3 separate regions of the Homo sapiens genome follow, and regions 1 and 3 are each linked to region 2. Evidence: promoter capture Hi-C in 16 types of primary human blood cells and fetal thymus (Javierre and others, 2016). All regions are on one chromosome and are shown on one strand. Each heading gives the region's core, a stretch centred on a gene start or on the middle of the fragment in contact. The rest is flanking DNA. Distances are from core to core; before and after follow the strand shown. Region 1 has its middle 16 kb from the start of MS4A4A. Region 2 holds the start of MS4A13 (membrane spanning 4-domains A13). Region 3 has its middle 16 kb from the start of MS4A6E.

Region 1 (3,698 bases), core at 526-3,025, 250 kb after region 2:
GTACTGGCCCAACCATGATGGGAATGGGTATTAGAGAAACGTTCAGAAGTCCTAACTTTATTTCACTTCTTTTAATCCTCTCTCCACCCAGCTTTCACCGATCCACTCTATGGCATTGGAAAATAAATGCTTGGTTCATTTCCATCAGTCAGCTTCACTAGAAACTACTAGGTTGGTTCATTCACTTTCAAAGTCACTTCTAGATCCATGAAACCATATGAGTCATCCTAAAATCTCTCATGGACATATTTCCTTAATGTGTGATCTATAAGTCCAACACCATGAGGGAGGCTCTCAGGGTCGGGCTGGTTCAGGTTATTTCCCTTATGAGAGGCCAGTGGCTGTTCCACCAAGAAGGGAAGAAGCCAGGCACAGATGTTGCCACCTGGCCACTCATCCCGAAGCCTTCCCAAACCCTCACCTTCTGCAATAAGATCCATGTTCCAAAAAGCAGAGAGGAGGGCATGGTAATGTCTCTGGTGTGCCATTTATAACCCAGATTTTTCAGAATATGAGACCAGGTGAGATGTGCAGTCTCAACCTCTCCCTCTAGCTGTATCCACACCCTCCTCCATCATGCATGTGCTCACATTTTACAGAATGTGGGGAAAGACAGGAGAAGGGAGAGGAGAGTAGAGTAAATAACAATTAGATAAAATCTAAAATATGTTTTTCAGTTCACCAGAGTGCAGAGAATGGGGTGGGAGTGGACAAAAAAGTGGTATAAAGTTAGGATGGTACAAAAAGCACCCTTTGAAATTAAAGCACTTTAATACTATCTTGAAAATCAACTTGTGATGTTTTGAAAATTCATTCTCAGGTATCCTCACTAACACCTTTCAATATAAGTAATAATATCTAAATAATACCTACAAAATTTAGCAGATGAAAAAGCTAAGGGTCAGAGGGATGACTTGCTGTATCTACTAGATTCCCAGAGAATATGGGATAGAAATGGGACCCAACCCAGCGCTAGTATACAAGACCAGAGCTGGGAGTTGACTTTTCATAAGGTCTTCCCAGAAGACACCAGATTAGGTAGGAATTCAAATTAGGTAGGACAATTTCTTGTCCACTGCCTCCCTCTTGTGGCTCAATTAAATATGACACCTCAATGTCAAAATGAAGGGGATAATAGGAAAAACAGAAAAACTGGGTTATACATTCATTACCTTCATGACTCACGTGAATCACTTTCTTTCCCTGGGCCACAGACTTCTCATATTTCAGTGTAGAAAGATTTCCACGTCTCTTCTAACTCTGATGTTCTATTTTTATAAGATGTAAATCAGGTCTCTTATATACAGCCCAGTCTAAGCAAAGCATCTCAATATTGTAAGAACTGCCTGTGTGCATGTGTGTGCGTGTGTGTGCATGCATGTGTGTGTGGAAAGAGATGACAACAATTGAGACTACAGAGCAAGTATTAAGAGAACTGTTTGTATTTCTGGACTCCTGAAAATTGTGCACCACCTTCTACATGTCTTTGTGGTCAGTGGTGAACAGGCCATACCATGAGTGCTAGGAGAATTTTCCTGATGCCAGGATTTGAGCTTACCATTGCTCATTTACCCTAATTTCTTCCCAAAGATATGTTACTTTTGGGAAAGAAACTGGGGAAAGATTGAAAAGTAAATCCTAGCTTGCATTCCTGGGACAAATAGTCCCCGAGAGATATATAACTTTAAGCTTGGTTCTGAACTGAGATCATTGTCTCCTCTAGTAACCTGAAGCAGCATCAAGACATCACATCCTACTCTCTGTCCTTACAATAAAAGGCCTCAGTTTAGTATCCCGAAGTCCAACTTGGCCCTACCCTCCAGACACAGATATGAAGATGTAAAGAGAAGGCCAAAGCTTATGGAATAAATCCTACTCAGAAGAGAAGATAGGCACAGGGCCAGGTTCTATGCATTCTGGCTCAATACCAGCGGTAGAATTTAAAAAGCCTTTAGTTGCATCTGGAGAACTCCAGGTTCGTCTAGAGCAGTAGCTCTTAAAATGTGGTTCCCAGAGTAGTAGCATCAGTATCACCTGACATTGTGGTTGACATGCAAATACCCTACCCCAGACCTATTGAATCAGACAGTCTCGGTGTGCATTCTGTGTTTTAAGAAGCCCTCCAGATTTTGATACACACTCAAGTTTGATATCTACAGGCTTATAGCAGTAATTGGCAACATTGACTATACGGTAGAATCCGCTAAAGAGCTACAAAAAATTTTGACTCTCCAACCATAATCCATATTAATTAAATCAGAATACCTGGTAATGGGGCTCATGTGTTAGTACGTGTTAAAGTTTCCCAAGTTATCCCAATGCTCAGACAAGATTGAGATCCATTGCTCTAGAGGCAAAGGCAGACTTCTTGGAGAGTCTTTTGCTTCTGTCTCCATCCTTTCAGCTAACTAGTAGAAGGGCCCAGGCCTTTCTCACATTAACTTCTGTTAAGCAAGTTCTAGTCCCATCTCAGGTTTGTGCAGGTGATTTGTTTTTAAACATAAGCTTGGGACTTTAATTTTACCTGATTAAATTTGATCTGTATTCCAACGCTCATGTTCCAGACTTTTGGGTTGTATCTTCAATCTGGACACTCTCGTTTTATAAATTATACTTCTTGTTTTTGGATCATTTGCAAATAGGATCAGCAACTAAATTCTTGATGAAAATATTAAGTGGTTGAAGATCCAACCAAGAGACTCCACAAAGGATGACATTAACACCCCCTGCATAGGATTTCTACCAGATGACAATCCATATAACTGGTTATTCAGGGCATGGTAGGCAGCCATAGTCCTGATTCTCTGGTTTTCCATATTTAGGGTCAACCCTGAGCCATTTGGCTGAGACCAGCTGGGCCTGGGTGTCATCTGATCACCTTTGTTACAGGATCAGTCCCGAGCCTGTGCACTGAGGCCTCTTCAGTACTTCTTCTGAACTAATAATACAAGGTTCCAAATGTCAGATATAGGAGAAACCGAGTGTTGGAGTTATCTGGGCCTGGGTTTTTAAAATACAAGTAAGGACAAAGGATGTCAAGATGTATAACTCTGATGTTCAGTCTTCGGCTTCAGTCTTCCTCACTTGACTGTCACTCTAGCCCTGAAGCAAATATACCAATGCCATGCCATGAAATTGCCTCATGGGCATAATTGTTGTACATTCCGACTAAACACAATAAGAAGACGGCAGGGCTTGAGTTTCACCACCAGCCCCCAGATGACCGCATAACAGCTATCACATAGTCTTACTGAACTAAAGTACCTGGGAACTTGAACTCCAAGCTCTTGGTGCTGATCCTGTGAAAAGTGCAATGTTGCATGTCCTGTCCCAGCTTCCTCTTTTCCAGGGACTTTCATATCTTAACTGTTCCTCTTGTGGTGCTCTCAGAGCTTTTCTCCACCAACCACTTTTTTTTTCTTTTTGCATTTCAAAACACATCACTTTTCGTTTATTTCATTATACAAATTATTTGCTTTCAAATCCATTTTTTCATGCATAAGTGCATGGCCATTTCTATTTCTTTAGTTAAATTGTCTGGTCCTGCACTTCATCCATTTATATTTTTTCTATGATTACTATGTGGGCATTCTATTCTCATTTTCTTGCCATTCAGTCTTTTTTAACACAACGCATCACTTGTATTAGTTATTGTATACTCCATTTTAATTTCTGATAGTACTGTCTTTACTTCAACA
Region 2 (3,297 bases), core at 610-3,109:
TGAAATATATAAGTGCAATTGGCTAACTTTAAAAAATACATTTTGGAGAAGTTTTGTTTTTTTTTTAAGAAAAAGTCTCTTTTTTGGTAACGATCATGCATTTTTATAGATTTAGAATTTAACGTTTCCCCTTGCATCAAATTTGCAAGAATGGTAATTTTCCAGAAATTCTTTGGATTTGCCTGGAGAAATATCTCCCACTAGACTGCAAAATCCCTTAGGGCCTGGAGTTTTTTTTTTTTTATTGTTTTATCACCAGCCTCTAATATGGTGCCCAGAATAGAGAAGGCATCCAGCAAATACCTCTTATATAAGCATACTGGTGTCAAGAATAGTGATTCCATGTGACTTTCCCAACTGTTAAAAAAGTAAGTGAGCTTGAAAAGTACTATCTCTTTTTAAATGATTGACTATTGTTTTATATAAAACCATGAGATAGCTAATTAGCCAATGCTTGTTAAGAACTGCCAGTGTGTGGAGAAGGACAAGATAGGTTTTCTTATTTAAAAATGATTCTTAATCTAGAATCAATATGAGTTCCAGGAGGTCAGACCCGCCTACCCCCTGCCCCCAGGGAAAAAAAATGCGAAGGATTGTGACATGTACATAATTCTGGAAAGAAGATTCAGAGTTTTCATTCTATGCCAAAATGGTCTGTGACCCCAAAGAGGTTAAGAACCTCTGCTGAACAGTCGTATAGGCGACTTAGATAATTGATCTATGCAACATTCAAATTCAGAAGAAAAGTTCACGAGTGGAAATGTTTTCTCCCCTTTGGATGTGAAAAAGCATGATACTCATAATTCCTTGGTGTTCATTAAGAAAGCTAAACTGTAACTTCACATGTTTATAACTTAATAGAAGAGACAAATTTATAATCATCCTACTGCATAAATGTAAGTGCAGTACTCTCTTTTTTCCTTTTAAACCTTACTTGGATTTCTCTATTATCCTGTGTGTGTTGGTTTAGTCTGTATCCCCATATCTCAGCACATGAAGGAACATGAGATCAGTCAAAATTTGTAGAAGACAATCAACATTTGAAAAAAAAAAAACTTTTACCCTTTTGATTTAACCAAGTCTGTCCCCCTTTAGATCCAATATATCCGTTAAAAAAATGAAATAGTTCATGATCTTAAATTTAGTTAGTCAAAGTGAAATCTTACCCCTAAAACGAGAGAATCTGCTGTAGAGATTTGTTAAAGAACACATGCCATACTGCCAGCATTTCCTCTAGATGATTTTCTCTTTAACCTTTGGTGATGTCTTTATTAGCAAACTTCTACAAAACAGTACAAAGCACATATACATTATTTTCTTAGAAGAAAATACGTAAGTTTGATCCTTTCCTTATTGTTCAGTCACCACCTCTCCAAATTCAGAAGCAATAGCCTTCTTTCTTCTTTCTAGGCCTTAATATTAGAGGCATCAACTTTCATCCATCTGTTCTGAATAACAGCCTTCATAACTGAAAAGTCTCTCTCTATGACTAAAACATATCGGCATTTTACAGCTATCATCTCTGAGTAGTAAATAGTGCCTACTGTTTACAGAGTATGATAGGGAGAGGAACACCGTAATCAGCCTCCGTGTCCCTTTATGGCTTCTGACACGAAAGCACTCCAGCAAAGCGACATCACTACCCTGCATTTTACTTGTTCAAGGTTCCAAGGAGTTTCGGGGGGCGCTCGTCCAGGACCCAGTCCGAGTTCTCACGCCAGCGCCCAGGCCTAGATGAAGAGGAAGATCCCGGCTGGCAACGCGCTCAGCGCCAGGTCCCCAGATCTCGCTGAGCTACCATCACAGGGATAGCCAGGAGCCCAGCACCCGGCCGGCTCTCAGGCTCCTCAGGGAGTGACGGTCTGCAATGGCAACGGTGTGCTCCTCTTGCGCCTGCGCACCCACTCAGGAACTGCCGGGGCGGAGGTAGTGCGTGTGCGCAGACTCACTAGGCTCCTGGCAGCCATGTGGTCAGACACCCGGTTAACTACGTTTTGGTGCCTCTAGGAACGGTTTCTGCAAACCTCTATTCTGAGATTGCCCATATTGGTGCATTTCTTATACACCCACCTGCTGCACAGTGACCAGGATCACTGAGGAGAAGTCCGCCCTTCACCTTTTCTGTCTTCAAAGAAAAATTTTGACCACAAGAGCACCTTTGGAAGGTGCACTTTCGAGTGAAGTGGCTAAATCAATGGCTCACTTTTTTTTTCTTTAAACATAAGTAACTGAAGAAGGAAATTAGTGATGAAAGTAATACTTAACAAGACACCAGAATGACTTTTTGATCCACTTGCTGAGGCGGGTTTACCTTTTAGGTGACACGTGGTGTTAGTTTTCTGTTTGAGGTGTAGACAGTAGTTAAAACAGTGTTTATGAAGAGGTGCTTTAGATGAGCAGTACAGACCATCCTCTTAGGCAGCTATCATGACTTACTGAGGCGTTTAAAGTACCTGGAGAACAGCCACTCAATGGCATTTCTCATTTATTCATGGAAAATTTAAATTGACATTGTGGAATAGTTAAAATTCCAGCTTGTAGTGTAAATTTTTAGTCAATGATAGCCAGTGAGTAAAACACGCAGAAAACAAGACAGATTTTTCTTTCATAAGGAAATTTTCTATGCTTTCAACACCTTTATTTGCAAAAAGCTAAATCATGAGTGTGTCTAAAAGCCATCAAGATCTTTTATAGCCTGAAAAATCAACTGTAAATTGAGAATCTTAATTTTTAGTCTCACAGCTAGCTTCCTTACATTGAGACTCCAAAGTCCCCTCAAATCAAAGGAAAAAAAAACAAAAAAAAAAAGCCCAGCCTCTTCTAAAGTCTTTACATTCTGTATTGGTCAGTATGTCATTGAAGGTAATAGTTTTATTCTTAAGTAATATACCACTTCAGTTTCTAGCATTATTATTATTTTGTGAGTTCCTTGTCTATGAGCAGACAGGGCTCCGATAATATTAAGCATTCTCTTTGCTGTAGAAAGAGGAACTGTGTCTTCAACCTCAGGGTTATGGATTTTTTAGAATCCATAGTAGTAAGAGCCAGTTCTGATGAGATGGACCGCTATTGTAACTTGCTGCCAAGACTGATTGATTATTTGTGAGAGAAGTGACATATTTCTTCATTTAAGCTTTGGCCAACAGTCTCTGGAAATTATCATGGATTTGGTCATTTTTTTGGACTGGGGCCAAAATGTGTTTTCAGTATAAACATAGGCAAAAATAGAAGAGTGAGCCAAACTATGAGACAGGCATGGTTCCTTGGTACATCTTATTTCTTCTGCTAATATCACAG
Region 3 (3,775 bases), core at 266-2,765, 170 kb after region 2:
ACAAGATCAGGAGATCGAGAACATCCTGGCTAACACGGTGAAACCCCATCTCTACTAAAAATACAAAAAATTAGCCTGGTGTGGTGGCGCACACCTGTAGTCCCAGCTACTCGGGAGGCTGAGGCAGGAGAATGGCGTGAACCCAGGAGGTGGAGCTTGCAGTGAGCCGAGATTGTGCCACTGCAACCAGCCTGGGCCACAGAGTGAGACTCTGTCTCAAAAAAACAAAAAACAAAAAACAAAAAAACAAACAAAAAAAACAAAACAAACAAACAAAAACCACCAGGAAATTAGCAGGTTATCATCCTCAGTTTTCCTTCCATGAAAGATAACAGTGCTACACTGTAAGGGACATCAAAAGGGAAAAGATGAAGTAGCTGAAGGAAATAGGTTAGCTGATCAGGCAGCTAAGTCAGCAGCAAGGAAGCCTCAAGACATCTATGGACTTCAAGCCCCTCTAATCTGGGAAGGTTCCATAAAGAAATTAAACCTCAGTACTTCCCTGCAGAAATAGAATGGGCCACTTCTCAAGTGTATATTTTCCAGCTCTCAGGATGGCTACAGTCAGGATGGCAAACTCTACTTGCCAGTCTCTAGCCAATGGAAAGTCCTTAAAATCCTCCATCAAGCTTTTCACTTGGGAAAGGATAAAACTCATCAATGTGCCCAGAGATTGTTTTCAGGAGAGAACTTACCAAAAACAGCCAAACAGGTTGTTAATGCTTGTGAAATCTGTCTTAAAAATAATCCCCTGAACAGGTGGCTCCTTCCTCCTCAAACCCAAAGAATAGGAAGCTATCCAGGGGAGGACTGGCAGACAGACTTCACCCACATGCCAAAGATGAAGGGCATCCAATATCTCCTGGTAGGGACAGATACTTTCGCCAACTGGTTAGAAGCATTTTCATGCCATACAGAAAAGGCATCTGAGGTAATAAAGTGTTAGTTAATGAAATAACTCCCCGCTGTGGTCTACTTAAATACCTCCAAAGTGACAATGGCAGACAAAGTGAGCCCTTTTAAAATGCTGTATGGATGGTCTTTCCTTACCAATGATTTTCTATTAAATTAAGAAATCTCTGAGTTGGTTGAGCATGTAACCTCTCTGGCTCACTTCCAGCAGGAATTAACACAGTTAGCAAAAGCCCAACTCCAAGAAATAGGATCACCTTTATTTAACCCAGGAGATTTGGTATTGGTGAAAGCTCTCCCTTCTCTCTCTCTTCCTGACCCCAAGCTGGGAAGGGCCCTACACTGTTCTTTCAACCCCCTCAGCAGTAAAAGTTACAGGTATTAATTCCTGCATACATCACACTCCAGTCAAAGCCTGGAAAGCTGAGAGAGCAACCTCTGACAGCCCAGAAGAACGTCCTGGACATCAATGACAAAAAATAGGAGATCTTAAGCTGAAAATCATAAAAGATAAGTAAGTAAGTAAGGGCTACCCATCTTACTCAGTCCCACCTTTAACTCACCAGATACTTTTTGTCATTTCAACATTTCCTCTCGAGATTCGCAGCCAGATATTAGCACTTCTTTTTAACACATATTTGCAGGGAGATTTTAATTATACATGGGATTACATTTGTAACTTCATAGAACCCCAAGGAGAAATTCTACATCTTGGCGAGTAAAAGTTTTAGACGTAAATTATCTACTACACCACCTTTCCGGGAATTGATACATGCGCTCTACTATTTGCAACACAACTATACATTGTGGCACCTGCAATATGGAATTCCGGTTGGAAAATTCTAATTGCTGTAATATTCTGTCTAATTATAATCTTTATAGTAGAATTAATAATTGGGGGACACTTATGCAAAAAAAAGGTTCCTTTTATATTAACGCGTCTAGTAAAGTAAGCGACACCTGGTGGAGGCAAACTAGTATTACAAGCCATTAAAATGGCTAACAGGTATCAAACTCCACTGGCATGGTTATGGCCTATGGTACCCCCACTAATAATGGTAATCTTAATACTCATATTCAAACCCTGTATTCTAAACCTTCTTGTAAAATTTATCTCTTTTGGCCTAGAAGCAAACTTTAAATGGTGCTGCAGGCAGAACCACACACGGACACGCCTTTCTTCTGAGGACCGTTAGATTGAACTCAGGAGGAGCCCTAGCTGCTGTCCCCACTAGATGCCCCTTTTCAGCAGGAAGTAGTCAGAAAGAGTCACTGTCCAACACCCTCTAACAGCAGTTAGGGTTACTACTTCTGAGGGGAGAAATAACACAGGAGCTAAAAAGAAATTATTTAAGTAGCTAGTGAGGGTAAGGGAGTTCTCAGTAAGATTTTCTTTTTATTAAAAAGCAGCCCCCAAATCATTTCTTGTCTAGCAAAAGAAGCCTGAAAAATCCAGCTGCAAGAATAGATAAGCAAGCTGGAAGCTTGCAAAGGTGAATGCCAGCAGTTGTGCCAATAGAAAAGGGATACCTGGAAGCTAGATATATTAAGCATGGAGGTTCCCTCTTCCCTTTTCTTTGTCACCATGTGTGCAGCAAAAAAGCAGGCAATATGGTGCCGGCCAGGTGGAGACCCCATCTGCATAATAAAAGATTAGTGTGGGATGGCCAGCACTTCCCATGCTATGTAAATGGCACATCTGGTCCAACCAATCTACTATGCCTGATGTAAATCAGACACGACCTCCTCAGACTCATCTATAAAACCAGCCTCATCTTGCCCCAAACCCAGAAATCCATTCGGGATCCCTTCCTCTGCATGAGGAAGCACTCTTCTTTCTTTTAGCCATTAAACTTCTGCTCTTAAATTCACTCTTTGTGTGTCCATGTCTTCAATTTTCTTGGCATGAGACAATGAACCTCTGATATTACCCCAGACAAATGACAATGCTTCAATGGTCCTCTCCTGTGGCGGAAGGTGGCACCATGTGATTAATAGTGGGGAGGTGGATTTTCAAAGGAAGTACATTCTGTCTTTTCTGTCTTTCTCTCCCCCCCCCTCTCTCTCTCTCTCTCTCTCTCACACACACACACACACACACACACACACACACACTTGTTTATCCTCTACATTCTTTTAGGCAGAAGATGATATTCTTTATTCTGTGCTCAAATAACAGTTAGTGTCTTTATTCTGTGCTCAAATAACAGTTAGCGAAATCCCTAACTTCATTGTCATCTCTGTTTTCCTTATTTGACTATAAATATCTTGAAGCCAAATCATGTATCTTATTCACTTTGGTAGCCCTGGCATTAAAAGCATAGTGTCTGGTATCCAATAAGTATCAATAAAAGTTGAATGTCCACAATAGGCAAATAAATAAAAGAAATGGTGTGTGTCAGTGGGGGGTGCAAAGGACAGGGAGAAGACCTAATGAAACAGATTTGAAGATAAAGCTAAAATCAAAGAAACTGACAGTTCCATTTGAGACTGGAAAAAAAGAGCAGAGAAACTCTCTGAGTATCAGGATATCTGAGACAGTGAGTATGAAGTATGACCCCTGCTACAGAGGGTCAGAGCAAGGAAATATGACAAAATCTTTCAAAGAAATGGAGGTCATATAAAATTGAAATACTTTTTTACACGTGTGTGTGTGTGTGTGCGTGTGTGTGCATGAGCAAGGTGAGGCTTATGTTTGTTATACTCAAACAATTCGTCTTTTTTATTTTGAAATAAGGACGTAAGTATGAACTGGTTGTCTCTTCATAACAGATAAGCATTCCTGGTTAGCATTTGTTCACTCGTTAGTTTTGTTTGAATATTGGTGAGGAGAAAATTGAGTTAAAATTTGGGTTTATGTCTG

Evidence for each region. The method cuts DNA at HindIII sites, captures the fragments that hold promoters and counts their contacts. A CHiCAGO score of 5 or more calls a contact.
Region 1: a fragment that was not itself captured here is called in contact with the fragment with the promoter of MS4A13 in region 2 in 4 of 17 cell types (total B cells, naive B cells, M1 macrophages and 1 more); the score reaches 8.5 in total B cells.
Region 3: a contact is called between a fragment that was not itself captured here and the fragment with the promoter of MS4A13 in region 2, in 1 of 17 cell types (total B cells). The highest score is 5.3, in total B cells.

Annotation. Positions count from the first base shown.
Region 1 is chr11:60,263,194-60,266,891 of GRCh38, reverse strand. No RefSeq gene overlaps it. Among named protein-coding and RNA genes, the nearest start is that of MS4A4A, 16 kb to the left of the region's middle. The HindIII fragment of the contact is 168 bases long and covers 1,692-1,859 here.
Region 2 is chr11:60,513,954-60,517,250 of GRCh38, reverse strand. MS4A13 (membrane spanning 4-domains A13) reads right to left here and starts at 1,859. Exons shown (of 7, transcript NM_001012417.3): 1 at 1,644-1,859; 2 at 1,167-1,282. The HindIII fragment of the contact is 9,060 bases long and covers 1-3,135 here.
Region 3 is chr11:60,341,397-60,345,171 of GRCh38, reverse strand. It overlaps a transcript of MS4A6E not described here. Among named protein-coding and RNA genes, the nearest start is that of MS4A6E, 16 kb to the right of the region's middle. The HindIII fragment of the contact is 1,767 bases long and covers 632-2,398 here.